Regions from separate parts of the Homo sapiens genome. Here regions 1, 2, 3, 4, 5 and 7 are each linked to region 6. Evidence: promoter capture Hi-C in human tissues and cell types (Jung and others, 2019). All regions are on one chromosome and are shown on one strand. Each heading gives the region's core, a stretch centred on a gene start or on the middle of the fragment in contact. The rest is flanking DNA. Distances are from core to core; before and after follow the strand shown. Region 1 overlaps CACNA1C-IT1 (CACNA1C intronic transcript 1). Region 2 has its middle 5.4 kb from the start of WNT5B. Region 3 overlaps DCP1B (decapping mRNA 1B). Region 4 has its middle 7.6 kb from the start of CACNA1C-IT2. Region 5 has its middle 11 kb from the start of MIR3649. Region 6 holds the start of LRTM2 (leucine rich repeat transmembrane protein 2). Region 7 has its middle 12 kb from the start of MIR3649.

Region 1 (3,834 bases), core at 1,245-3,744, 200 kb after region 6:
AAGGCTGGACACAGGGTAATTGTTAGGAGGAAGAGATGACACCGAGGGCCTACATGAGACTGGGATGGTGGCACTCTGATGCTAGGTAGCAGCGGAAACCCTGGCACACGGGTGGAAAAAGAGTAAGCAACTAAAAATGTTCTGCTTCTGCTGGTTTTCAGCTTTGAAATTTAATTGTGGCCTCGTTAGTAATCATATAAAGAATTCCGTTAGTACTTTTTAGCTTGGCTGTAAATGGGGACAGCCCCTTCAAGAACGCTCAAGCATTTATGGGTTTCAGAATGATACAAGATAACTGATCACCCTTAAAAAATAAAAGAACTCAGTTAGCTTTTACAGCTACCCAGTTAATTTTGGTAATGTAGATCATTAAGCTTCCAGATAGAGTTTTTCACAGGGAGTGAGGGGAGAAGAGATGGTCTGGCTACTTAGGATCCAATTACCTGGATAATTGCCAGATACCCACTAAACATGGTGATGTAAGCATGGTTTCAGTCAATGTATCTTTTTTCTGTTTTTTTTTTTTCTGACCTAATGCCTCTACTGATAAAAATATTTTTACTATTATTGGTTCTGTGGAACTAGTATGACTGTGATAGTGAGAGGACTGCATTCCATTTGCCTTGTGCTCCATCAGAGTCAGCTGTCGGTGTGTCCTCATGCCAGACTCATTGTAATTAGGAAGGAGACAGAAGAGGCAAGAAGAGCCCAGCGGGAGGCTCCCATTTTGGCTTGAAGGCAGTAGCACCACAAATTAGAAAAACCATTGCTTGCCTTCTACACGGACTCAACACAATACTATTGTGTCTACCAATGGGAGGTTCTGAATATTTTTTTAAAACCTTTGAAAACATAAAAACCATTCTTAGCTCAAGGGACACAGGAAAACAGGCCACAGGCCAGAGGTTGCAGACGCGTGGTCTAAACAATTAACAGAACAATAAATCAAGCCCGGATATGTCACATTTGCTGACCTCCCTGTTGTAAATACTCTCACAATGACTTGATTCGAGAATGTCCACGTAAACACTGCTGCGAGGGGAGCTAGGGAGAGTTGAGCAGTGGTTTACCGTGGTGTGCTCTTTCCACCACGCGGATAGCATAGGCTGACATGTATGATAAGCAACCTTGAGAGCAAAGGGAATGGTAAAATGTGGTAAAATAATTAGGAAGGAAGGAGTTTTTGAGTATTTATTCTCTTTGTTTCTAATATAATTTATTTAGTTGTAAGTTCACATAATTCGGTTTTTATACTGGCCATGTTGAACAATCGGCTGGCAAAATTTCTGAAAATTTAACAATATTCTCTCACAAACTAGTACAAGCTGGCTCCAGTACACCACGGCTGGAGAGGGGAAGCTAGAATGTTGAGAGGCAGTCAGGATGAAAGCAACAGAGCAAGGAAAGCTGAAGTTTATGGCTGTGGACGAGCGCTTCCTCCATCAGCTGAGATGGAGCCATGCGTGGGCGTTGCACAGGGCAGCAGCCAATGATGGGACGGAGCTCATTCAGGCCCTCTGTCTTAATAAGCACAACTCAACTAATTTGGGAAGAAAACTCAGTTCAGTTGGCCAGTACCTGGCAGGGACAGGTAGCTTGACTTAATATATAGTAAATCTAATTATAAAAATATAGTACTGTGCTCAAAATTTACATGTGAGTAGAATGATCGTGATGAAACAGAAGACAGAACTTTTCCCTTACGATAACATTGGATTTTCTTTCCTAACCTAGCTCTCCTACAAACATGCAAATAAACTGAACCAGCTAAAGAAGTGGTCCCAAGGTTTTAATAAAAAAAACATTTAACCCTTCCCTAAATATTATCTAATGAGGGAGCAAAATGTGTCACTCTCCCTTAACAGATGGGATTCTCATGGCTGCTGTTAAAGGGGAAAAAGGAGAAACCAAACTGGGTGACTCTCTGAGTTACATCTTTGGCTCTGAACTCGGTGAGTCTATGGTTTGATAGGTTGGCAGGGCAAAGGGAAAAACAGAGTTGGAGCTGACTGAGGATTAGAAATGGAATCTGGGGCTGGGTACAGTGGCTCACACCTGTAATCCTGACCCTTTGGGAGGTTGAGGTGGGAGGATCATTTGAGCCCAGAAGTTCAAGACCAGCCTGGGCAACATAGTGAGATCCCATCACTACAAAAAATTTTTAAAAAGTAGCTGGGTGTTGTGGCACGTGCCTGTAGTCCCAGCCACTCAGGAGGCTGAGGCAGATCACTTGAGCCCAGGAGTGCAAGGCTGCAGTGAGCAATGATTACGCCACTGCACTCTAGCCTAGGCCACAAAGCAAGACCCTGTATCTAAAATAAACATAACAAAGAAAGAAAAGAAAGGGAGGGAGGGAGGGAGGGAGGAAGGAAGGAAGGAAGGAAAAGAAAGGAAGGAAGGAAAGAAGGAAGGAAGGAAGGAAAGAAAAGAAAGAGAGAGAGAAAGAAAGAGAAGGAAAGAAAGAAGAAAGAAAAAGAAAGAAAGAAAAAGAAAATCTAGATGGCTTCTAATGTAACATGGTATTTTTGTGAGAGGATACTGTTAACTATAGCAATCATTTGATTTGCTCACAGATTGATTTAGTTTTTAGTGTCCATAATATGTTAAGTATTTTTAAATATGAAATATGTACCTACATGTATTTAATATTTACCACTTAATTGAATCCTGAAGATATCAGTGGTAGATGGTTTATGTTTCTGTTTATTTCTCATGTTTTTAAACTTTCTGCAGGGAGGAACCATTTGTTAAATTTCTTTTTATGTTTCTTACTATGCAGCATTGCACCATGAATATGGAGAGTGAGCTTTAAAATAGTATGAAAGACAAATGTTTAAAGGTATACATTTCTTTCAGAGAACTTTTTCTCTCTCTTTCTCTCTCTGACAGTGTGTGTGTATCTCCTGTGTCTCTCTTTCCCTCTCTCACATGCACACATAAGTGCACACACACACTTCTCTTGGAAACTGAAGGAGGCAAGAATATGATGCCATTAACAAATGCTCTTTGGTGGACAGCAATAATAACAACTGCTAACTTTCACTGAGGACTACTTATGTGCCAGATACCATGTGAAGCGCTTTGCTTGTATTAGATCATCGAAACCTCAGAAAAACTCTATAAAGTGGGTGCTAATATTTTCTAGATTTTTCAGATACAATACTGAGGATCAGGGAGATTGAATAAGTTGTCCAGTGTCACCCCTGGTAGCTGAGAGAGCTGGTTTGGATGCCTAGGGCTGTTTGTCTCCAAACCTGTGCCTTGCACCCTTAGCTCTGGTTCCTCCCCTCTCATGTCATGTAATCAGCACAAATTTCCTGAAGTAAGGCTGCATGCATATAACAAGAATAAAGGAATAAAAATAGAGGATGCCGTGGAATGGGAGAAAGTGGACTACTTACGGCAGCAGAGGAGACAGTAGGAAAGGAGAACTCTAGATGCTGTAAAGCTTCCTGGGACTATAAGTACACTTGGCTACAACAAAATGGTTGAGCAGGAAAGAAGGGAAGACAGAAGGGCTGATTTGGTGGAGGGCCATGGGAGGAATAAAATTAGACATCATAGCTACAGAATAGAAGCACTGAAATTGCACCAAATCCATAGACTCTCAGGAGTGGAGGAGATTTGAACGCCATCTGCCTAATACATAAATTTGCTCTGCATCTTGACAAGGTGGTGGTTCAGCCTCCTTGAATGCCCTTGGCCATGAAGAACTCATTAGCTCCTCTCAACAGATGGTGAATTAGAAAGTTCTTCCCTGTATGGAACCCATATTTGCCTACCAGTAACTTCTGCTCAGTGGCCAGGAACTGACTTCTTGGGGCCATACATGAA
Region 2 (3,957 bases), core at 955-3,454, 200 kb before region 6:
GATGTGAGCCACCATGCCTGGCCCCATATTAGATTTTGGAGGGACTACATAAATTTCACGAACAAGCAATTCTGAAAACAGTGGAAATTATTGAAGTCCTCCTTCATTGCACTATCTCTCCTCTTCTTCGAAAAGCACCTTGAAATTTTCTCTTTGACCAAACCACATCTTCATGTGAAATCCTTTCTGCTGTTTTCCTCCTGTTAAAAGCCCTCATATTCTTCAAGGCCCTACTCAAATCCCACATCCTGAGTACAGCTGCTCCCTTAGGCTCTTCTGACACTTCTTTTTTTTTTTTTTTTTTTTTGAGACGGAGTCTCGCTCTGTCGCCCAGGCTGGAGTGCAGTGGCGTGATCTCGGCTCACTGCAAGCTCCGCTTCCCGGGTTCACGCCATTCTCCTGCTTCAGCCTCCTGAGTCGCTGGGACTACAGGCGCCCGCCACCACGCCCGGCTAATTTTTTGTATTTTTAGTAGATGACACTTCTTATAGTGTACTTTTCTGGGCAGGTTTTCTGTTTTCCCCAGCTAGACCAATGCACCTTGGGGCACTCCCCAAGGTCTTACACATTTTTACATTATCTTATTAAGCAGTGCCAGCCTTTACTCTTAGAAGCTGAATGTTACTTATGTCTTTGAGGAAAAGACAGAGAGTTATGTCTGGGACCAGGAATCTCCAAAATCTCAATTAGCAGTGGATTCTCAGATAAGGGGAGGTACAGTCAAGCAGCTTCCTCACAGCAAATGGACCAAGTTGTATGGAAGTCGAAGGGACTCTCCTTGTCTTCATGAGAGGCTGGCCTTCGTGGCCTGCTTCCTCTTTCCCTGAGAGCCAGAGGAGGGCTTTTCTTTTCTTTCAGTCAACAAATATTTTTCTAGCAACTCCCACATACCCCTGTGTACTATCCTATCCACTGGGGAGAAAATGGTAAATAAGACCGTTTCCAGAGCATATGAGGGACAGAAACAAAAGCACAACAGATGAGCATGCCACACTATTCCATGTCACATTAAATGCTGTGGCTAAAACATGTGAGAAGCTAGAAATAGAATGATGCTGCTGGGGGCCTTCTTTGGCAGAGATGGTTAGAGAAGGCCTCTTGGAAGGTGTGGCCTCAATGACAAAGGAGCTTGCTCTGCACAGAGAGAGGAGAAACCATTCCCAGAAGTCGGCAAGGCACAGCGGGGAGAAACAGGATGGGTTTGGGTAAGGAGGTATCAGGAGTTTGGGGTTCTAAAGCACAGCATGAAATCCTAAAGAGGATGGAAAGGTTGGCGGGGCCAGATTCTGGAAGGCGTCATGTAATGGGGTGAGGAGTTATGACTCATCCTTTAGGAGATAGGAAACCTTTGAAGGGTTTTTTGTTGTTTTTTTTTTTTTTTTTTTTTTTTTTGAGACGGAGTCTCGCTCTTTAGCCCAGGCCGGACTGCAGTGGCACAGTCTCGGCTCACTACAAGCTCCGTCTCCCAGGTTCACACCATTCTCCTGCCTCAGCCTCCCGAGTAGCTGGGACTACAGGCGCCCACCACCACACCCAGCTAATTTTTTGTATTTTTAGTAGAGATGAGGTTTCACCGTGTTAGCCAGGATGGTCTCCATCTCCTGACCTCGTGATCCGCCCGCCTCGGCCTCCCAAAGTGCTGGGATTACAGGCTTGAGCCACCGCGCCCGGCCTCTTTGAAGGGTTTTAAGCAAAGAAGTCACATGGTCAAATCTAAGCTTTGAACAGAGCTCCTCGATCGCTATATCTACTGAAAGGCAAGACAGTTTTGTGCTATCGAAGTAAGAGCCTTTCTTGCTGAGGACATAGTTTCTTGGTGAGTTTCACTGTTAAGGCCAATCTAAAATGTCCCTCCACGTTCTCTCCAAACCTTATGTTTCTTCACGTGCACTCTGTACCTCACCTCTGCATCTTCCATGAGCCCCTCACACCAAACCAGGATCCACCCTTCCAGACCCATAGCTCTTGACCTGGTTTGTCTTTTCCATCCCAAAGTAAAACTAAGTACCAACTCTTTAAAACTATTATGTTTTAATTCCTCCAGCTTTAAGCAGCCTGGCCTGTTCTCAACCCACATATCATTTTGGCTAGGGGAGAAGTCTAGTTCTTTCCGCCCACAAGGCTGTGTGTGTATCTAAGTGTGTGTATTAATACTAGTAACTTTGCATGTTTTGTAAACCTTGCTTTTTGTGATATCTCCTGCATATCAGAATGTTGTTTTCTGACTTTCACACTATTCGCAGCCGTAGTAACAGGGCAATGGTGCAACGAAGAAAAGAAAGAGGCTGGGTACCGCGGCTCACGCCTGTAATCCCAGCACTTTGGGAGGCCGAGGCAGGTGGATCACCTGAGGTCAGGAGTTCAAGACCAGCCTGGCCAACATGATGAAACCCATCTCTACTAAAAATGCAAAAATTAGCCGGTCGTGGTGGCAGGCACCTGTAATCCCAGCTACTCGGGAGGCTGAGGCACAAGCATCACTTGAATCGGGAGGCGGAGGTTGCAGTGAGCTGAGATCATGCCACTTGCCTAGGCAACAAAGTGAGACTCTGTCTCAAAAAAAAAAAAAAAAAAAAAAAAGAGAAAGCAGAGAAGGTGTTATGCTCTAGTGACAGGGAGGACCTGTATTTGGGGAAGAGTAGAAAGATCTGGATTCCAAGCCAGGGTCAACCATTCAATTGCTGTATGAACAAGTACTTAATTTTAGTTTCCCTGTTTTCAAAGTGAGAATAATAATGGCATATGCCACAAATGTTGGCAGAGATTAAATGAGAAAAATAGATGTGAAACATTTAGTGCAGTGCACTAAGAGGTGCTCAATAAATGTTGATTAATACTAGCTATTGTCACTGGTTATCAATCAAAAGACATTTGTTACTGCTGAGTAAAACCATACTGGGCGCAAAGGGGCTCGCAGAGAAAGTAGAAAAGGTAAGTTTGAACCTTTAGGAAGCATTTGATCTACTAGAGAAGTAAGAAGTATATACTTCACCTGAGAAACAGCCCAAGGCAGCATAAGTGGGGTAGGGAGGTGCAGACCAGATACATGGATTCATAAGGGCCGAAGAGGTTGAGACCTCTTCGGTCTCAACCCATGAGAATGAGATTCTCATGGGGTGGGGTTAATCAAGCACAGTTTTATGGAGGGAGTGAATCTTGAGCCTGGATGTGAAAGTAGTTTAATATCTGGATTGCTGCAGAGCAGAGGAGAATGCTTCCTTGGGAAGAGGATCAGAATGAGGTCTTGGGGGAAAAGTGGGGTTTGTTCTAGGAGTAGAAGGACATTGGAAAAGGAGACTTCATGTTGGGAAATTCAGGAAAACAATGAGAGGTAAGATGAGGCCACATTGGAAATAAAGAACTGGGAACCACTATACGTTTTCAAATAGGGGAATATTATGATGTAAAATTAGTATTTTAGGGAAAACTGGTATTGTGTCTATGTGCACTTGTGAGTGAGACCACGAAGAACTACTCTGGTGTTCAGATGCCAGAAGGGTGAGTACTCACCTGGAAATTGGGAAGGAAATGAGTGAACCTGATGTACATTTTAGGAGGTATTTGTCTATTGTGCTGAGGTCCATAAACAGTCTTTCTCTACAGTACGAGAAATGAGTGGCCAAAGGGAGAGAAGCCACAGGACTCCAGCTAGCAAGGCCTGCTCCTCCTCCACCTGCCCCTCCCCTGTCCCATGGAAATCATCCAGTCTGAGGCCCCTCCTTCAACAGCAATGCAGCCAGGAGTTCACAAAGGGAAGCATTTCCTTTCCAAAGACTGCTAAGATGGTTTACCCTGTTATGCCAGGAATGTTAACAAAATTGCAAATGTACTTTTATTCTTTTGTTTTTTCTCTTTTTTTTGAGACGGAGTCTCACTTTGTCACACAGGCTGGAGTGCAGTGGTGCAATCTCGGCTCACTGCAAGCTCCACTTCCCAGGTTCAAGCGATTCTCCTGCC
Region 3 (4,018 bases), core at 868-3,367, 170 kb after region 6:
TTTCCTTTTCATTCAGGGTACTATTTCCGTTATTTATAGCAGTTTTTCCCAGATCCTATGAATGTTAATCAAGGATTTAAACTGTCATTTCTTTTTTCATACAAAACTACCCAAAATGGTAAATTCACTTTAAGACTTAGGAGGAGTTTTCTAAAATAGTTTTGGTCCTAAATATCTTAAGTTTTTCTTTTCTGATTTGATCTAAACTTCAGGTTTACATCTGCAATAAAATCCAGCATCTAAAAAGAATTTCATTGCAATCCTATAACTGTGGATTATATCCTATATTCAACTTGTTGGCCTAGCTCTGAAATATCCCTGTCAGCTGGGCATGGTGGCTCCCGCCTGTAATGCCAACTACTCAGGAGGCTGAGGTGGGAAGATCACTTGAGGCCAGGAATTTGAAACCAGCCTGGGAAACACAGCAAGATCCTGTCTCTAAAAAGGTTGTTTTAAATTATCTGGATATGGCGGTTTAGCCCAGGAGTTCAAGGTTGCAATGAGGCTATGACCAATGCCATGGCACTCCAGCCTGGGTGACAGAGCAAGAACTTGTCTCTAAAGAGCAGAGCAGGAGCAGGAGCAGGAGCAGGAGCAGAGCAAAGAGAAAAAGGAAAGAGGAAAGAAAAGGGAAAGGGAAAGGGAAAGGAAAGGGGCTGGGCGTGGTGGCTCACGCCTATAATCCCAGCCCTTTGGGAGGCCAAGGTGGGTGATCACTTGAAGTCAGGAGTTTGAGACCATCCTGGCCAACACGGTGAAACCCTGTCTCTACTAAAAACACAAAAATCAGCCAGGCATGGTGCCATACACCTATAATCCCAGCTACTCAGAGGCTGAGGCAGGAGAATTGCTTGAACTTGGGAGGTGGAGGCTGCAATAAGCCGAGATTGTGCCACTGCACTCCAGCCTGGACAAATAGAGCAAGACTCCGTCTCAATTGAAAAAGCAAGAAAAGAAAGGAATCCCCATGTCATTGCTGTCTATAACTTAAGTATTATATTTGGGAAAATATATTTCCATATGCTAATATCTTATTTAGTTGCGAAATGAAAAACACAGTAAGTGATTACTATATGGGAATATTACAAAAGAAGTGGTCTAATTCAGCTTTTTGTTAAATTAGTTTTTAATCTGGTAAAAACTAATCTCTCTAATAACTGATATATGCTTGAATCTCAAGGCTAAAAAAACTTGCTTTTTAAACCTTGGAGCGTACTCTAAAATAACTAAGTGTTTGTAAATGATAAACTTGGCTCAAATGCATTATTTACTGCTAGTACTTCACTGCTTGGGCCTTGGGTCTCGAAGTTAAGGTTTCTTGGTTCAAGTGGTGTTTCCATCTCAAAATAGTCATGGACCACAGCGTATCACTTAATCCCTTTAACCTTAGTATTCTCATTTATAAAACAGGAATAACAGTATTTTCAAGAAAAAGTTATGGGATAACCCATATAAAACCTGAACATAGTGTTTGGCAGACAGTAAATGTTTGTTGAATAAATGAATGAATGAAATGTTTGCCCTAACTTTAACAGCTATCTTACTTACTTTTAAAGTTCATACAGGTCAAACCCCATTTTAACAATGTTTAAACCCTTTAAACAATGTATAAACCCTTTTCTGTAATAAAGTAATCTATTTTGTGTTTGAATGAAGTTACTCTATTTATCAAGCATCTTTTTTTGGCTGATTAAATGAAGAGAGTTTGGGATTTTCATTTCTTTATTTTGCTCTTCTACATTCATCCAATTCAAGAAAGGGATTTTTTTTTTCTCTCCTAATGAATCTAAAAAACCTCACCACAAACCTCTATCAATTCTACCTTTGTCTATTTGAAATGCCCAAATATGGCCTATGACATACATAAGCCAATGTGAAATGCAAAGACCAGACAGAGAGATTCTTGACTATACAGAATATCTTGAGGAAATAGTCTTACAAAAACAATCCTGAGTAAAGCTGAGTTCCTTGCCCAAAGAAAGGCCAACCAATCTATATGCCACCAAAGAACATGTAAACCATACATAATTATTATATAACATATTTGAATTCTATTAAAACGTTTAAGAGGTATCTGACACTCTGACAGCACCTGTGGTAAACCCTTCTGTGTACCTTTGATGCCCGGGATTGAAAAGGCTTTTGCAAACAACATAAAACCAAATGACTCTGGGTGCAAAGGCAATCAGTATCAGATAGAAAGGACAAAAAAAAAAAAAAGGCAAAATGAATCCAGAAAAGTAAATAGATCCATTCCCTTTCACTCTTTGTTGTTCAACTGATTCTATTTCTTTTGTATGGAAATTCATTAGAAACATTTTAATATGCATCCCAAAGGCTACCTTTAATTTGCATCCATGTTTAATAGTAGAGCAGTACAGGTGGTGTGGAAAAAGCAACGGAAGTGAAATCAGAATCTGTGGGTTTTTACACAGTCTGCCTCCTCACTGGAGTCTCAGTTTCCTCATCTGCAAAATGGCAATGAAAATGTCTACTCCACAAAATTGTGATTATTAAACATGGTAAAATAAATGAAAATCATTATAAAATACGGAAACATAAAATAAAATATGAAAAACAAATTAAAATAGAACAGTGCCATTCAATAGAAATATGAGGGGAACCACGAACGTGAGCCACATCTGTTATTTTAAATTAAAAAATACAAAGAAGCAAGTGAAATTAATAATATATTTTATTTTGCCCAATTTATCCAAAATATTGTCATTTCAACATGTTAATATAAAATAATTAATAATTGAGGTTTTTTCCTTTTTTTTTTGCACTGTCTGACAGTTGGTGCCTGTTGGACACTCACAGTGCAGCTCCGTTTAGACTAGCCACACTTCAGGTACTAAACGGCCACAGTAGTTAGTGACTATCATAGTGGACAGCACACGCTTAGAACCAAGGTGTATGTTTATTAGATCTAAATAGTATTTTCTATCAGATAAACCCTGTGGGACTTAAGAAGGTTATTTTTTAAATTGATGCATTAAAGAGAGTTTGTGTTTTTATATTTTTGGTATAGTAGTTAATATGTGATCTATAATAAGAATTTAAAATAAAATATTACCTATAACTGATCAGACCATGTATTTATCCAAAATAAAAGCAACCAAAAGTGATGATTACAGGTAACTTTGTAGTTATTTTATTAGGACTTAAATTATATATTAATTTGACATAAAATCTAATAATCTCAAAAAAAACCCTGACATAACTATAAGCACACAAAACAATTCAAACTATAAACAATTCAAACTGGCATTTCTGTAGAGAAGGAAAGGGTCCTGGAGTTGGAATTCCAAGTCTTTAGTAATAAACTACAATTGATAAAGTGTACCTTTCGGCAAAGAAACATGAGGAGAAAACACAATATTTTTCTATATTGCAAAACTTTTCATTTCACAGGACCTGCCATTAGTAAGTCATATTATAGTTTCAATAGCTTTATTTTTTTCTCTCATAAAAATTTATTCTCTAAATAATAGGATAACCACCTATTATGACAATTATATACAGCATCATTTTAATGCATCTTAATGATGCATTGGGGTTAAAATGTCAAATATTATTTACATTATACTCATTAAAATTACACTGAATAGTATATGGTAGGCAAATTCATGTATCTTGAGTTCAAAGAGTAGGATGAAAAATATACAGAAAACATTTCTTCACTGCAAGGTCTTTATGAAAGCTGTCCACAAAGCATAAGGTGCATGTGTGTGCACACATATGTATTTATATATTGAGTATTATGTTCTTGTTTTCTGTGTGTAGAGATGTCCCTGCAACTGGCATATTTTCAGCAATCTTCCTCTGGGCTGACCAGCAGTGCAACACAAGTGGTCAGAAACGATACGAGAGTAAAATGTAGTATGAGAAAGGCGATGGCTACTTCATTTCAAATCTGACAAGGACTATTTAGTTACCTACTACGACTTCCACATTACAAAGGGTTATTAAATTCTTAATGACTGAAAGAAACTTTTTGGACTTTGATTTTTTATTT
Region 4 (3,845 bases), core at 816-3,315, 220 kb after region 6:
TTTCCCCATGCAAGTCACTTCCTAGCAATTCACTCCAATATTACAGCAACACCCTGACTGTCCTGTGCCCAGGTATGTTGACAGGTGAAATCCCTTAACATAAATTTTGTCAAAAAAAAAAGCCTGTAAAAGACAGATGCTGGGAAGTGGAAATTGATAAATCCAGGTGTTACAAATGGGACACTGTTAAATGCAAGGATTGCAAATGTTATATAAGTAAACACAATGTCCATAGGTAGGAAATTGCAAAAGACAGGTGCTGTGAATATTGGTCTATGAGGCCAACAGACAGCCCTTTGCAAATAACATGGGCCTTTTAATAGACAAATAAGAGCTGAAACTTTCATGCAGAGTTCCAATCCCCTGGTAGAGGATCTTTTTGGCTAAGTAACTCACTAAACAATGATGAGAGGACAAGTGTAACAACCTCCCTTTAAACTAATCTCCCTGGGTAACCTGCCAGGGAGTTTTTCCAGGAACATTAGCTACCAGCTCAAGAGCAGCCTTTCATGTAGATACTTTTATGAGATGATTGATAGAAGTAGGGCAGGTCTCTTGGTTTCAAAATTTCTCTTTTACCAGCCTGTAATATGCCTGAAATTGCACCATTAGCAATATATTTTTTGGATTAATTCTCTACCACCAACAGGATAGATAGAGCAATCATTCATTTATTCATCAGATGTTTATTAAGCACTTACTGTGAGCCAAGTACTATTCTTGGTAAAGGAAATTCAAAGGTAAGTACAACATCGTTCTTGCCCTTGAGATGTTGAGAGTCTAGTTGGGAATACAGGAGGTAAACAAATAACTACAGCAATATAACTAGTGCTTTGATAGAGATAGCGGTAGGCTCTATGGGAACACAGAGGAAGAAGAACTTGACCCGGGACTCTTGAGCTGAGTCTTAAAGGATGAGTAGGAGTTTGCACACAGATGCAAAGGATGGAGGTCTGCAGTTTGGGTGTGGGAGGGGAGAAGGAATAAGGGATGATTTTGGACCATTGGGCCATAGGGGTGAGCATCCCTGTGCCTGAGCTGGGATTACAGTTCTTGGGTTCCTGTGGGGCATCATGTCAGTGTTGGCTGCCTATATATGTAGAGAGAGTGCTTCTGGAGATGGGGATGGGGGTAGGATTTATGCAAAGAGGAGATGGAGGATGGCAGAGACCAATGCATCTACTTGGATGCCATGGAAAGCCTGACGGCACTAGATTTTTCTTTCAAGTCATCACCTCTTCATTCAACTTGCTTTCCCATCCAGGTACTTTTCTACCCAGCTGTGGCACACCCATGACTTCAGCAGGGAGAGAGTTAAGACTTTGAGGATGGACAGCAAAACTCCATCTATTTTTTTTTTGTTCGTTTGTTTCTGTTTTTAACATTCATGATTTGGGTATTGTAGAAACTATCAAAGATGGCTTAAATGAGGTCTTTGTGTGATAGGAAATGTTCTTAGCTCTGTGCTTCCCAAACTCTTTTAACATTGAACTGCTCTCTGCAGAACATCCATCTTGGTGAGCCTTCACTAAATGCATAGAAGTGACAGCAAATAATGTAGCTGATCTAACTACCTCCCCTATAGGATTTACTTTCAGAGTTTTAAGGGAAATTTTCAAGCAGAAAATGGTTACATGGATAAAATTGTTGAGATTTAATTAGACTTTTATAAGAAATGTGAGAGAATTTTGTTATCAAAGTCTAAGCGGTAGGCTGGGTGATGTGGAGATGTCGAATACCTTGACTTTCACTTCTGAAGAACTGGTTTTAAGCATCCTCTTTTCAAATAGACAATTAATTCTTACATAAGAGATGGTGACCAACTAGTCTCTTTTTCCAAAGAGGAATAAAAGACAAAAAGAAAATGGTTGGAATTGTGGTTAATGATATTCAGGTTGGACCAAGAAAGATTATTGGGTGCTTCAATGGATTGTCAAAGATGACAGAAAATTCCATCTTTGTGGTAATAAGTACCCTGCTATGTCTATACTTTTCCTTGACAAGCTTTTTCATACTAACATTTCACTTTGTACTCAGAATCCATTCCTTGAAAGTTCCTTGGTTTATGGTTGAGGGAACTGATACTCAAAGAACATTAAGAGACCTGGCTAAAGTTACACAGCCAAGTGGTAATAGATACAAGCTTTAAACTCAGAGTTCTTTCTAATACCTGACACTTTTGTCTTCTAGGCTGTAAATGAAAATACAGCAGAATCAGATCTGTCCAATAAATCCTGATTGAAGGCCAGAACTGAAAGTATTTCTTCTGAGGCTGAGAAAAATTCCATCTCAAACATTGAAAGGGTAGAAATAGGCAGTGAAGTCCTAGTGCCTGCTCTGTTTGGCCTTTCTGGGTTAAAAACATACTTAAAATTGAGTGACTCTGTTGTGGAATAAAATCCAAACAATCTGGGTTGAAAAAGACTGCTTAGGGGTGTGTGGGTCACAGTGATGCTAAGGGTATTCTTTTTTTTTTTTTTTTTTTTTTTTGAGACGGAGTCTTGCTGTTTCGCCCAGGCCAGAGTGCAGTGGCGCTGTCTTGGCTCACTGCAAGCTCTGCCTCCCAGGTTCATGCCATTCTCCCGCCTCAGCCTCCCGAGTAGCTGGGACTACAGGCGCTTGCCACCGCGTCCGGCTAATTTTTTGTATTTTTAGTAGAGACGGGGTTTCACCATGTTCGCCAGGATGGTCTCGATCTCCTGACCTCGTGATCTGCCCGCCTCGGCCTCCCAAAGTGCTGGGATTACAGGCATGAGCCACTGCGCCCGGCCCGCTAAGGGTATTCTTGATATCCGCTGGGATAATGTGACCACAGGACACCTTGCTTGCTTTCTCCAAGAATCTCAAGAAGACTACAAACCCCAAGAAGGGAGGCATCTTGTTCAAGATCATGTTGGGGATAGAAGACAGAGTGAGAATGAGAAAGCAGAGATGTTCATTTGTTTTATGAACATTTACTTATCTGCCAAGGTCTGTAGCCCTGGCCTTCCCTGTGAAGAGCAGCAGCCTGAACCAACGTTCAGTGGCCGGGGCTGCCGAGCCAGGACCTTACGGGGCTGCAGCCTGTGCTGACCCAGGGCCTCCACAGTGCTTTGCTTGCAGATCCCCCCAAAAGAGTTGTGAAAAAGTCTGTGCCTCATCATGCGTTTTCAAGTTGACATCCCAAAAGTTTCATGATAATTTTAAATGGTTGTAAATGATGCAATTTCTGGTGCTTTATAAATCTTGACAGTTTAACATAAAATTGTTGCATTACTCTTTTAAAGTTTCCAATAAAATATAAACACTGCAGCTATTTGATACCTTCTATTATGTATTCAAAGATATATAAAAGCCCTGTTTTTAACAGTCAAAGATTTTTCATCATTTCTTTTTCTCCTTGGATACATATTTACATTCCATTTCCTTCTTAAAATTTTACCCTAATACGATATATTTTTATGCTGGAAAGTCTTTTACTGATCACGCTACCATATTACTCTGCAACAAAAAGAGGCTTATAAATTAAAATTTAAAATTTAAAAATTTTATAAACATAAGGCTTTGTGTTATACGCTTCTTTTGGATTGAATTTTCATCACAGATACTATTAATGTACAACTGAGCAAAACAACATATTTACATTATGAGCTTTTCGAGGTAATTCTTAATATAAAATGTACCAGAAATAATATATTTTACATGATCGAAGGGATATGTTGTCCGATTCAAGAGGCTTTCTAGACACCTGTATTTCAAATGTCTCCTTGTCTGGGCACCAGTATTTCCTAGATTTCCTTGTTTGGTGTCCTGGGGGCATTCACACCACAGGGATATGGACCTGGAAGGATGCAGGGTGAATGACA
Region 5 (4,019 bases), core at 80-2,579, 170 kb before region 6:
TGTTTTGAGAATTAAATAAGGTGATGCATTTAGGCATTCACCCCAAGAGCTAGCACAGTTAAACACTCAGGAAGTGGTAGCCATTAATATTACTGCTATACACAAGGGAGTTCAGAAATTTAAATTGAAACCTCACATTTACCTGCCTCTTTCCCTTCCCCTATTTGATAGCCTACCAAGCGAACCCTGGCTTGTTCCCTGGGTCCCTGTTAAAGCACGGGTAATGGGGATGCCCTTTGCCGTCTCCTCTGTGTTGCTGTCTGCAATTTTGGACTCCAGTATCTGGGGCCAGGAGGGTAAGGCTGAGCTTGAGGATCCAGGAAGGGAGATGTTATTATCCTAAAAAGGGAGGAAGGAGTGATTGAGGGAGACATGGAGCCAGGCTGCTGTAGAGTGACCAGCCTGCAGGTGAGCCGGTAACTACAGAAAGACATCAGTTTTATTCTAGAAAACTTTATTTCTGGAGAAATAATTAATGTGTTAATTTGGGTTATAATGAGCAAATGATATTGCAAAACTGCTTAAAAGAGATTCTGCCTGAGGGCATTTATGCCATGCATACTACCTGTCTCTTTAGTACCTGAGGGAGAATGTTCTGACCCAACCAAGAACCTCAGACCTAGAGTTATTTCACCTGTAGCTAACTCACACTGTTACCCAGATTCCTTTGGTTGATACTTTCAAGGTGACATTTCATTTTCATGAAAGAAAATGATTGAAGTTATGGCCGGGCAGGGTGGCTCATGCCTGTAATCCCAGCACTTTGGGAGGCTGAGGTGGGTGGATCGCTGGAGGTCAGGAGTTCAAGACCAGCCTTGCCTACATGGCGAAACCCCATCTCTACTAAAAATACAAAAATTAGCTAGGCATGGTGGTGCATACTTGTAATCCCAGCTACTTGGGGGCTGAGGCAGGAGAATTGTTTGAACCTGAGAGACAGAAGTTGCAGTGAGCCAAGATCATGCCACTGCACTCCAGCCTGGGCAACATAGTGAGACCCTGTCTCGAAAGAAAAAAAAATGATTGAAGTGAATTGGTCTACAAAAGATGAAAACCATGTCCTCGTCTTCATTCATTGACATTTAACCATCTTAACCACCTTTAACCATAACTATCCAGATGCACAGATCAACCATGATAATAGGGTTTTGAAACACTGGCTAACATCACTGTTCTTCCCCACATCAGTTCTAGAGGTTTGGGGAATTACTTTGTATCAGGTGCTCAAACTGTTTAAGAGCTGAAATCTAACCTGTTCTTAGAAGCCCCCAGAAATGAGCTGAGAATGATTGTCCACAATCCCCAGAAGTCACTTCCGTGTTCATGGAGGGAGATGGATAATCCTTATCAGAGTAAGGTTTTCCTGCAGAGTCATGGCAAGTGGTAGAGTGAATCAGTTTTCTTTCTGATGTGGGAGCAAGTTGTGTTCAAACACCAGCGTGGTTGTTGCATCCACTGACCTATTTTTCTAAGTAGGTTGGCATACGGGTATAGTTACTTGTTACTTGCTTGTTGAATCCTGGTGGATTGGAATCCTGTCTGTGAAGTGACCAGTAACGCTGTAGGAATGTGGCTGGAGAATGTGGAAACCAACCTGAGAAAAGCAAGTGAGCTTCTGCTCAGAATCACAGAATGTTGGAGCAGGAAGGGAACATGGCAATCACAGCTTAAGCTTCTGGGGCTCCAGATAAGAACCTCCAGATCCTGAGCAGGTCCCACACCTTAGTGTGCTTGTAAAAATGCAGAGTGCTGGGTCCCCAGCACCAGGAATTCATATTCAGCTGGTCTGGGGCAGAGCCTGGGACCTGAAGGGATCCGATGCTGTTAGCTCAAAGACCACACTGGACTTGCGGTTACGGAGAGCTAAGACCTGCCGGGAGGCAGGAAGCCTGGTCCTGATTCCCAGCCCAGTGCTCTCTGCAGCCCCTGGCAGGGTTCCCTAGTACCTGAAATGTGTTATAATCAACATGTAGTCTCACCAGATCATTACATTGGTGTAATGCCTCGACCAAGCAGTCCCAGCCATCCCAGGGAACCTTGCTGATGCGTTGGAAAGAGCTTTCTGGTACAGGGCAGAACTGATTTGCCCTGGGATGTTCCCTCCCTCCTCTGCCTACGATGGGTAGAGACCTACTGATCTATTTCCTGAATGTCTATCATAAGGCGATATGTTCTTAGCTATTTGTCTTTGCCTTATCTTCAAAAATTAAGAGAAAGGTATGCCTGACTGCCTCCATTTAATAAGAAGACAGATGGACAGCTAGAGGATGGGAGGATAGGAAGGCAGTCACAGGTATGGTTGAGGTTAGGGCAGGCTTCCATTCATCCAAGCATCATGGACAAATTCTCCAGAACTTGGATTCAAAGTCCTTACTTGGAGAGCCCATTTTGTTCTCTTCCACTCTCCATCCTTTGAGGTGAGAAACAAAACTTGCTCTTTGTATTGAAACCTCAAATTGGCTATTGCCTTGGAAATTCTGCCCTGCTTCCTCTCTTTAATCATTAGTATCGTATTTAAGCTCCGTCATCCCCTGCAGTTTTAGGAACTAGCAAGATGTCCTCCATGAGATAGAGATCTTACAGATGCAGTAGCTTATCAGACAAGCCTATTCCTTGGCAGAGAGCCACACCACCCCGAGAGTGTGGAAAATAGTGTTTCCATCTGAAACACTCTGCTCCATTGCCAGACACCACTGACACTGGGCAGGTGGATTTTGGGAGAACCTCTGTGTGTGTGTGTGTGTGTGTGTGTGTGTGTGTGTGTGTGTCTCTCTATGTGTGTGTCTGGAAATGAGTATTTTTCATTAATTTGGGGGTGGAGGTGGAGAGGCACCAGAGGCATGGAGTATGTAAAAAATTAAAAACAACTCAACACTTCTGGCTGAGACGTTGCAGAGCCTGGGTTGTCTATCTTTATTGGAAATGTTTGTCCTCTGCCTGGCTGGTGATGACAGGCTTCATATCTCTAGAAGGAATGTTGGGGAGCTGAGAAGGGCTGTGAGCCATGGTTGCTAAGTGTTACTGTTAGTTCTTTATTATGTAAGAATCTCTGCATTGTGTTTATACTAAAACAGTAAGTAAAGGGTGGGTGCTTTAATTCTGGTTTTACATAAGAAGTATGGGAGCTTGCCCATTTTTCTCTGAAGTAAGAAGATTTGGGCCCAGCAGTGAGGATCAGACGTCAGGCAGTGTGGAAGACTGAAGCCATCCACAGTTAATTTTCTAGCTTGTTGCAGAGTTTGGGCATTCCTCACGTAGATTCTCCAGTCCTTGCTTCCTCCCTCTTGCTGCAGGCCTTTTGGTCTTCATGCTGCTCATTTGCAGCCCTACCAGAAGCAGCAGTAGAAGACAGAGCTGAATCAGTTAATTTAGGCCTTCTAAGTCGTTGTGATAAACAACTGGGTGGGAGGAGGGATGGTTCCAATGAGATTTTAAGAATTACAGATGTATGTGTATTATCTGCTGCTCCACAGGAGAACTGAAAATAGACTGAAAGCTGCTCACAGCCAAAGCCAGAAGGAAACTGCAGTATTGACAGAGAGAGAGAAAGAGAGAGAAAGAAACAGACTCAAATCACTCGGGGCAAGAGAGGGTTTGCTGGTGTGGAAACCGGGTGGTGGGGAGGCTTTCAGCAGAATATCAGGAGGGGACTTCAGCAGGGACCCAAGGAAAGACGTGAAAGAACAGACACTATAGAAAAGGTGAACCCTTTTGATCCAATCTCACTGTAAAGCCAAAAGGAGTGAGTACTGTTTGAAGTGACCCTGGCCTCATTCCATATTGGTGCTCTGCCTGTTGGGTCAGCCAGCTCTTCGGCTGGTCCCTGATTTGGAAGTTACGTCTTTCGTATATTTATTTCCAGAGACTTCTTAGCAGCAGTTACGTTTCATAAGGGAAGTTTTGATACCTCTTTTGTTCCCTGCTATGTCTGCCATCACCCACAACAGTGCCTAGCACAAAGAAAGCACTCAATAGATATTTGCTGAGTGAATGAATGAATGATGTTTCTTCATGAACAG
Region 6 (3,817 bases), core at 671-3,170:
GGGTCCTCTGCCTAGGAAAACCAGAGACCTTTGTTCACTTGTTTATCTGCTGACCTTCCCTCCACTATTGTCCTATGACCCTGCCAAATCCCCCTCTGCGAGAAACACCCAAGAATGATCAATAAAAAATAAATAAATAAATTAAAAAAAAAAAAAAAGAGTCATCACCACTCCCTAATCTCAAGTACCCAGGGACACAAACACTGCGGAAGGCGGCAGGGCCCTCTGCCTAGGAAAACCAGAGACCTTTGTTCACATGTTTATCTGCTGACCTTCCCTCCACTATTGTCCTATGACCCTGCCAAATCCCCCTCTCCGAGAAACACCCAAGAATGATCAATAAATACTAAAAAAATTAAAAAAAAAAAAAAAAGGAAAGGAGATGAAGCAGACCACAGAAAGCTCCTGCACAACATGAGGGTGGCCCAAAGAGAATGCCAGAGATCGGAGGAGGAGCAGGGCCAGTCCTGTGGTGTTCCGGGGAAACGTCACCTTGCAGGGGGCGTTTAAGGAAGGGGGAAGCCACCCATGGGCAGGAGAGCATTTCAGGCCCAGGGAAGAACACGCTTTCATGGAGATGGAGAAGCAGGAAGTATGTTTATGGGGAGGTGGGAGCCTCTTTTGCTTGACAGTGGGATGTGTGGGAGGCACCAGCATGAGAGGTCAGAGGCGGGACTCCCCAGAGGTAAAAGACACTGCAGCTCAAGCCTTGTGCTGCCCGGGGACCCGGCAGAACGGACAGAAGGGAGTGAGCAGGAGCATCCTTCTAGGGGCATCCTGAGTCCAGGGGGTTCTTCTACACCCACCCCAGTCCTGGCTGTGAACCCCTCCAGCAAAGCAGGCAAAATGGAAGAGGGACATAGGACACGGTGATATATCGCTAGCACGGTGCTTCATCTGTCTACAGGCAGTGGACGCAAAGGAAGGGGGATTTAGGGTTCGTGCTCCAGGCTGGTGGGGCCCTGGCTCCCCTCTAGCTTGGTCCCTGACTCACTTGGCCTTCAGATCAGCCACTTCCCATCTCTTAGGATATCAATTTTTCTGACTTGCTTTGTCCTGATTGGTTAAGAAAGAGGCCTCCAAGTTCTTGAATGACAGTCTCTTCCCTTCGCATGCCTGACCCATCACAGATAAGAGCAAGGAGCCCTGAGAAGCCAAGCTCGTCCCTGGCACTGAGAACGGTCTGCAGGCTGCTGCTGCAGGCTGCCCTGTGCCCAAACTCCCAGCCTGCCAACTCTGGCATTCTGCTTCCCTAAGTAGTCCTGGCGTCGGGTGGTCAGACCCTGAGGCTCAGTGACCTCTGCATGACCATGTGATCCCTGGCTTTGTGGGGGCTCAGGGCCCTTTCCTGTAGGGTCATCTGGCACATGGACATGCCTGTGTACCCTTCTTTCGTATGACCGAGAGAAGGGTTCGGTTTTTCCTTCTCTCAGGCAGGATGGGAGACTCTGCCTCGCATGTCTCTAAAACAGGAGAAAGACCAGCTTCCCAGGGGGGCCTCCATCGGAACAGAAGTCAGCCGCTTGCTCTGTGTCTGCGCCTGTCCCTCTTTCCCCAGATGGAGGGGAAGAGAGGAGAGAGGCACAGAAGACAGGTGCAGCCGGGGGGGTGAGGGAGAGCCTGGAGGCGCAGGATGGAAGATGGAGGTGGTGGTGAAACCGCTTTCCTCCTCCCTGTGGTCGGCAGCGATTCATCCACAGGCGCCTTTTTCCACTGAAATGTGAGCGTGGCCAGGGTGAGCGCTGCCCTCGCGGCCGGCCGTGGTGCCTCTGGTGTGCGCCTGTGTGTGCTGCTGCCGCTGTCATCACAGATGCACCCCAGCTGTCACTCCCCGCTCCACTCTGGCTCGCTGCTCGCGCACACGCGTGCGCTCTCCTCCCTCGCCCCTTTCTTCCCTCTCTCCTCTCTCTCTCTCCCTCCATCCCTCTCTTTCCTTCTCAGTTTGTGACTGACCCAGCAGCCCCGTCCCCCGTCTGCCACAAGCAGTCCACCTCCTGGTGCTGTGTGCTGCGTGCCAGCCGCTGCTCCCGCTGAGTGGAGACTCTGGCACCAGTGCCCACTGCGCTCTGCCTGCCGGTGGTGTCTGGATTTCTATAGGAATCCCAGGAGGGTCTTACTGGAGGGTTGAGAGCCACCTGATTGAAGGCGTTTGCAGTCAGAGTAAAGACGGGTGAGTACCGAGTGGCTGGTAGGAAGGAATGGAGGGTTGGTGGGGACAGGGGGTGGTCGGGGCATGGGAAGTGGGCACCGGCCATCTCTGCCCTGCAGGAATAGCTGCAGTTGCTTCCTACCTGCAGGCAATTGCTGGGGCCGAAGAAGCTGCTCGGGCTCAGGCACCTGAGCATCCCAAAGGTGCACGACACTGGGAACTCTGAGCCCACAGTGCTGGGGACAAGAGCTGTGGATTCTGCTGGGAAGTGGGGAGGAGGGCAGCGCTGGCGCCAGATGACAGTCCCGGGTGGCATAGAAACCGGTCCCTGCAGCATGGGAGAAGCAGCCAAGAGCCTTGTGCTGTCGTTGTGCCCGGCTCTGCACAGACAGCCCCAAGAAACTCGGGGGTCATGGGAAGCGGTTGGGATGGCAGTCAGGTGCTGGGGACAGGGCCAGGTCAGAGGAAGGCTTGGGGTGGAGGGTGGCAGGGAGGAGGTCCTGGATGTCAGAGGCATGGGCACAGACCCAGGTCCTGGGCCTCCCTATAGCTTGCCTGCAGGTGGCTGTCCTTGGACAAGGGTGTGGAGGAACCCTCCCCCAGATGAGCATGGGCCCACTCAGCTGTGCATGAAGCCTCCCTGGTGAGGGTGAGGCTGGGAGTGGGCAGGAGAGAGAAGTATCGCAGCCCTTCCCTGCTAGCCCAAGGGCAAGACAGGAGAACCAGGCCCGCGAGAACCTGCTGGGGTGTCCCGCAGCTGTGCACCCAGCCGTCCATCTGCAAATGGGTCAGGGAGCCTTAGTGGGGGCTGGACACTGAGCTTGGGTGGGGGGTACACAGCGGGGCCAGGCCTGCCTGGCTTCTTGACCCACACAGGGGGCATGGACACCCTGAGTAGAGCGGGACAGTTGCTCTCAATCCCCCAGACCCATTTGGACAGTGCTGGAGAGAGGAGCAGCCTGACCAGGAGTCGGAAGTTCACATTCCTGCACCTCCCTGCAGGTCTGGGGCTGGGTTCCAGTTGGCGGCCCTGTCTCTCCCCCACCCCCAAGCTGTCCACATTTCTGGGGGGTGTTGGCACCCGGCTGTCAGGGCTACTTGGGCAGTGTCTCTTTGTGACTCAGATGACACCCCTGCAGCTTAGATAACTGCCTCAGGTGGGGGCGGGGAGGGAGCCGAGCACGTGGAGCTGAGGCGGGGGAAGTCCAGCTGGTAGGGAAACCCGACAGCAGCTTCCGAGCTGCCAAGAAGAGCCCAGCTTTTCCCACCCCCACCTCCCCACCGGCAGAAAGAAAGTCTCAGCACTGCCAAAAGAGGGAGACCAGGAAAGCCAGGCCCGCGGGGAGGGGTAAGGAGAGAGGCTGCTTAAGCAGCCGATCTGGTGTCTTTGGGGTTTGACAGAAGCTTGTCTGGGCCCACGAGGAGCAAACTCTGCTCCCGTTTCCCAGGCACCAGAGCCCAGGGGCCGCCTCTGGGCTGCTATGGCCTCAGTGGGCAGTGTAGGAAGGAGGAGGGGATGGCATGTATGTGATGGTTGGGGGTGTCTGGGAGTTCTGGGGGTGGGCAGAGGAGAAAGGAGCCAGCATAGAGGCTGTCTGCCCCTCTGGTCTTCCTCCTTTTTCCCCCAGCCAAGCCTCCTGTGCCCTGCCTGGGAATACCACCCTGAGC
Region 7 (3,907 bases), core at 310-2,809, 150 kb before region 6:
GCGTCCTCCCCTCCTTCTCCCTGGGCACTCAGTAGCAGAGTGCCAGCCTCGCTTCCACTGCAGGCAACCCCACACTGCCCCTCGGGCATCCTCTCCCCCTCACTCACTCACAGCTCATTCGAAAAGGCTTTACTCACCAACTTTAAGTTAATTGCTTCAACTAAATTACACCTTTTTTTCATATGAAGTCGCAGATGTGTTCCCAGATGGTGCCTGGCCTGGTGTTCTGAGTCATGGGTCTACAGAGGCCGCCACACCTTGACACCTGGTGAAAGGTCGCCACAGTGCCCTCGCTTGTGATTAGCCCTTTGTAAGTGCAGTGCTCATTTTACCCTGTGGTTCTGAACAAGCAGGAATGACTGAATCCTGAAGTTGAAGTAGCGTAGCTTTTCCCTGAGATTCAGATGTGTTTACTTTTACACCTTTAAAAAAAAACAACTTTATCAATACAGCTTCACAGACATCACTGCTCCCGCCGTTGCTTTTTCTAGCTTTTAAGGCTGGACATATACCAAGCAAGCTCCCCATCACCACCAGGCCCTTGCCCAGGTCCACAACAGGGATCAGAAACTTCAGCCTAAGCCCCACTGCTGTGGCTCAGGTGCCATCAACAAGTCTTACCAAAGCAGGAACTTTTCTAAGCTTCTAGAATGTAGTTGTCATACCTTGACTAGCTGTCATCAACTCCCTCCCCACGGAATAGTAGCTCTGCATACCTGCTGAGATCCTGCCATAAATGGTCAGGCCACCAGCAATTACACTGTTGCCACACCCTGACTTTTTTTTTTTTTTGAGATGGAGTCTTGCTCAAGGAACTTAGTACTTCATACACCACCACCCTATCTAACATGCTATTTTGCAGTGATACTTCATATCTTTACATATCCATCATCAATGTAACATACAGTTATACAGCGAATGCATGTTTAGATTTATTTAAAGCTTTATTAGTTTCTTTGCTCACCATTGCTTTCCATTTTTTGGAGGGATCACTCTTTTTTTTTTCTTTTGTGTGCATGTGTATGTGTATGAGAAACAGATCATACATGAAAAATAAATGAAAAACTATGCACATATCGCAGTATTGGTGGATGAATACTATGATGTCTGAGATACATCTCAGAATAATCTGGGAGGGGAGAAAGTGAGTGACGGTGGAGATAAAATAAAATTGGTTGTGTACTAATAATTATTTAATAATTATTAAAGTTGTGGCTGGGTGCAGTGGTTCACACCTGTAATCCCAGTACTCTGGGAGGCTGAGGCAGGTGGACTGTTTGAGCCCAGGAGCTGGAGACCAGCCTGGGCAACATGGCAAAACCCTGTCTCTACTAAAACTACAAAAATTAGCTGAACGTGGTGGTGTGGGCCTGTAATCCCAGCTACTTGGGAGGCTGAGGTGGGAGGATTGCTTCAGCCCTGGGGGCGGAGGTTGCAGTGGGCCAAGTCTGTGCACTGCACTCCAGCCTGGGCGACAGAGCAAGACCCAGTCTAAAAAGAAAAAAAAAGAAAAATTGAATTTGTGTACTGATACTTATTTAATAATTATTAAAGCTGTGGGCCGGGTGCGGTGGTTCACGCCTGTAATCCTAGCACTTTGGGAGGCCGAGACGGACGTATCACGAGGTCAGGAGATCGAGACCATCTTGGCTAACACGGTGAAACGCCGTTTCTACTAAAAATACAAAAAATTAGCCGGGCGTGTTGGCGGGCGCCTGTAGTCCCAGCTACTCGGGAGGCTGAGGCAGGAGAATGGCGTGAACCTGGAAGGTGGAGCTTGCAGTGAGCTGAGATCGCGCCACTGCACTCCAACCTGGGGGACACAGCGAGACTCCGTCTCAAAAAAAAAAAACAAAAAAAAGCTGTGTACTAATAACTATTAAAGCTGGAGTATAGATACAGGGAGCTAGCTCTATTTTTGTATGTGTTTGACATTTTTGTATGTGTTTGTGTTTGAAATTTTGTATGTGTTTGAAATTTTACATGTTAAAGGATATAGAAAAAAGTAAAAGGTCCTGGGGCTCAATGTTCACCCTGCAGCTGACGAGTTGTGTCACTTTTTTTTTTTTTTTTGAGATGGAGTCTTGCTCTGTCACCCAGGCTGGAGTGTAATGGCGTGATCTCAGCTCACTGCAACCTCCGCCTCCCGGGTTCAAGTGATTCTCCTGCCTCAGCCTCCGGAGTAGCTGGGATTACAGGTGTGCACCACCACGCCCAGCTGATTTTTGTATTTTTAGTAGAGAAAGGGTTTCACCATGTTGTCCAGGATAGTCTCCATCTCTTGACCTCAACTGATCTGCCCGCCTTGGCCTCCCAAAGTGCTGGGATTACAGGTGTGAGCCACCGCGCCAGGCCCGAGCTGTGTCACTTTTTATAAGTCACTTCCTTCCTCTGCACCTTGGTTTCTTTCTCTCTAAAATAATGCAGTTTGACTAGACAATCATTTAAGATCCCTTCCTGCTTTGACAGGGTGAGATATCATTAATCTTTTGTGTTGTTTCTGTTATTTTGTTTTTTACTAAGATAAAATTTACATCCCATATAATTTGCCTTTTTTTTTTCTTTTTTTTTTTGAGATGGGGTCTCACTCTGTCGCCCAGGCTGGAGTGCAGTGGCACAGTCTCAGCTCACAGCAACCTCTACCTCCCAGGTTCAAGCGATTCTCCTGCCTCAGCCTCCTGAGTAGCTGGGATTACAGGCGCCTGCCCCAACGCCTGGCTAATTTTTGTATTTTTAGTAGAGACGGGGTTTCACCATGTTGGCCAAGCTGGTCTTGAACTCCTGACCTCAAGTGATTTGCCTGCCTCGGCCTCCCAAAGTGCTAGGATTACAGGCGTGAGCCACTGTGCCCAGCTGTGAAGTGGTATCTTGTTGTGATTTTGACTTTCATTTCCCTAATGACTAATGATATTGGACATTTTTCATGCCCTCTTATAGATCTTCTTTGAAGAAAAGTCTATTCAAATCTTTTGCCCATTTTTAGATTGAGTTATTTATTTATTTATTTATTTATTTTGAGACAGAGTCTCAGTCTGTCTTCCAGGCTGGAGTGCAGTGGTACAATCTCAGCTCACTGCAACCTCTGCCTCCCAGGTTCAAGTGATTCTCCTGCCTCAGCCTCCCAAGTAGCTGAGACTGCAGGTGCCTGCCAGTATGCCTGGCTAATTTTTATATTTTTGTAGAGATGGGGTTTCACCATGTTGGCCAGGCTGGTCTTGAACTCCTGACCTGTGACCCGCCCTCCTCAGCCTCCCAAAGTAATGGGATTACAGGTGTGAGCCACCACACCCAGCCGAGTTATTTATCTTTTTATTGTTGAGGTATAGGAGCTCTTTATATATTCTAGATATAAAACCCTTATTAAATACATGATTTGTAAATATTTTCTCCCATTTTGGGTTGTTTTTTCGCTTTCTTGATACATAACAGCCTTTACTTTTGGTGAAACCTAATTTATCTAATTATCCTTGGTTGCTTGCATTTTAGATATTATACCTAAGAAATGATTGCCTATTCCAATATCACAAATATTTACCCCTATATTTTCTTCTAAGAATTTTTATAGTTTTTGCTCTTACATTTAGGTCTTTGATCATTTGAGTTTATTTTTGTATATAGTGTGAAGGTGTGAATTTAGGGGGTCTAAATTCACTATTTTGCATATGTATATCTGTTGTCCAAGCACCATTTGTTGAAAAGACTGACCTTTCCCCACTGAACGGTCTTGCCACTCTTGTCAGAGATTGACCATGGATGTATCAGCTTACATCTGGACTCTCCATTCTGTTGCATTGAAATATACATGTTTATTTTTATGTCACTACCACACTGTCTTCATTAGTGTAGCTTTAAAGTAAGTTTTGAAATTGGGAAGTGTGAGCCCTCTAACTTTTATCTTCTTTTTCAA

What was found. The method cuts DNA at HindIII sites, captures the fragments that hold promoters and counts their contacts. A contact is called where the count stands out against the background at its distance.
Region 1: a fragment that was not itself captured here is called in contact with the fragment with the promoter of LRTM2 in region 6 in 1 of the 25 tissues and cell types used here (lymphoblastoid cells).
Region 2: a contact is called between a fragment that was not itself captured here and the fragment with the promoter of LRTM2 in region 6, in 1 of the 25 tissues and cell types used here (spleen).
Region 3: a contact is called between a fragment that was not itself captured here and the fragment with the promoter of LRTM2 in region 6, in 2 of the 25 tissues and cell types used here (dorsolateral prefrontal cortex and spleen).
Region 4: a contact is called between a fragment that was not itself captured here and the fragment with the promoter of LRTM2 in region 6, in 5 of the 25 tissues and cell types used here (adrenal gland, bladder, dorsolateral prefrontal cortex and 2 more).
Region 5: a contact is called between a fragment that was not itself captured here and the fragment with the promoter of LRTM2 in region 6, in 4 of the 25 tissues and cell types used here (IMR-90 fibroblasts, dorsolateral prefrontal cortex, mesenchymal stem cells and 1 more).
Region 7: a contact is called between a fragment that was not itself captured here and the fragment with the promoter of LRTM2 in region 6, in 3 of the 25 tissues and cell types used here (lymphoblastoid cells, mesenchymal stem cells and spleen).

The regions. Positions count from the first base shown.
Region 1 is chr12:2,017,147-2,020,980 of GRCh38, forward strand. It overlaps CACNA1C-IT1 (CACNA1C intronic transcript 1), which reads left to right. Exons shown (of 3, transcript XR_001749433.2): 1 at 1-1,146; 2 at 2,780-3,834. It also overlaps a transcript of CACNA1C not described here. Among named protein-coding and RNA genes, the nearest start is that of CACNA1C-IT1, 2.4 kb to the left of the region's middle. The HindIII fragment of the contact is 4,814 bases long and covers 88-3,834 here.
Region 2 is chr12:1,621,822-1,625,778 of GRCh38, forward strand. It overlaps a transcript of WNT5B not described here. Among named protein-coding and RNA genes, the nearest start is that of WNT5B, 5.4 kb to the right of the region's middle. The HindIII fragment of the contact is 5,142 bases long and covers 1-3,957 here.
Region 3 is chr12:1,988,779-1,992,796 of GRCh38, forward strand. All of the region lies in intron 3 of DCP1B (decapping mRNA 1B), which reads right to left. It also overlaps a transcript of CACNA1C not described here. Among named protein-coding and RNA genes, the nearest start is that of DCP1B, 14 kb to the right of the region's middle. The HindIII fragment of the contact is 7,991 bases long and covers 1-4,018 here.
Region 4 is chr12:2,038,805-2,042,649 of GRCh38, forward strand. It overlaps a transcript of CACNA1C not described here. Among named protein-coding and RNA genes, the nearest start is that of CACNA1C-IT2, 7.6 kb to the right of the region's middle. The HindIII fragment of the contact is 5,912 bases long and covers 1-3,845 here.
Region 5 is chr12:1,647,376-1,651,394 of GRCh38, forward strand. No RefSeq gene overlaps it. Among named protein-coding and RNA genes, the nearest start is that of MIR3649, 11 kb to the right of the region's middle. RefSeq lists an enhancer at 1-218. The HindIII fragment of the contact is 6,657 bases long and covers 1-4,019 here.
Region 6 is chr12:1,818,645-1,822,461 of GRCh38, forward strand. It overlaps LRTM2 (leucine rich repeat transmembrane protein 2), which reads left to right and starts at 1,921. Exons shown (of 5, transcript NM_001039029.3): 1 at 1,921-2,170. All of the region lies in intron 26 of CACNA2D4 (calcium voltage-gated channel auxiliary subunit alpha2delta 4), which reads right to left. It overlaps LOC105369601 (a long non-coding RNA gene), which reads left to right. Exons shown (of 5, transcript XR_931546.3): 5 at 1-162. RefSeq lists an enhancer at 1,491-2,237. The HindIII fragment of the contact is 8,239 bases long and covers 1-3,817 here.
Region 7 is chr12:1,670,438-1,674,344 of GRCh38, forward strand. No RefSeq gene overlaps it. Among named protein-coding and RNA genes, the nearest start is that of MIR3649, 12 kb to the left of the region's middle. The HindIII fragment of the contact is 4,477 bases long and covers 1-3,798 here.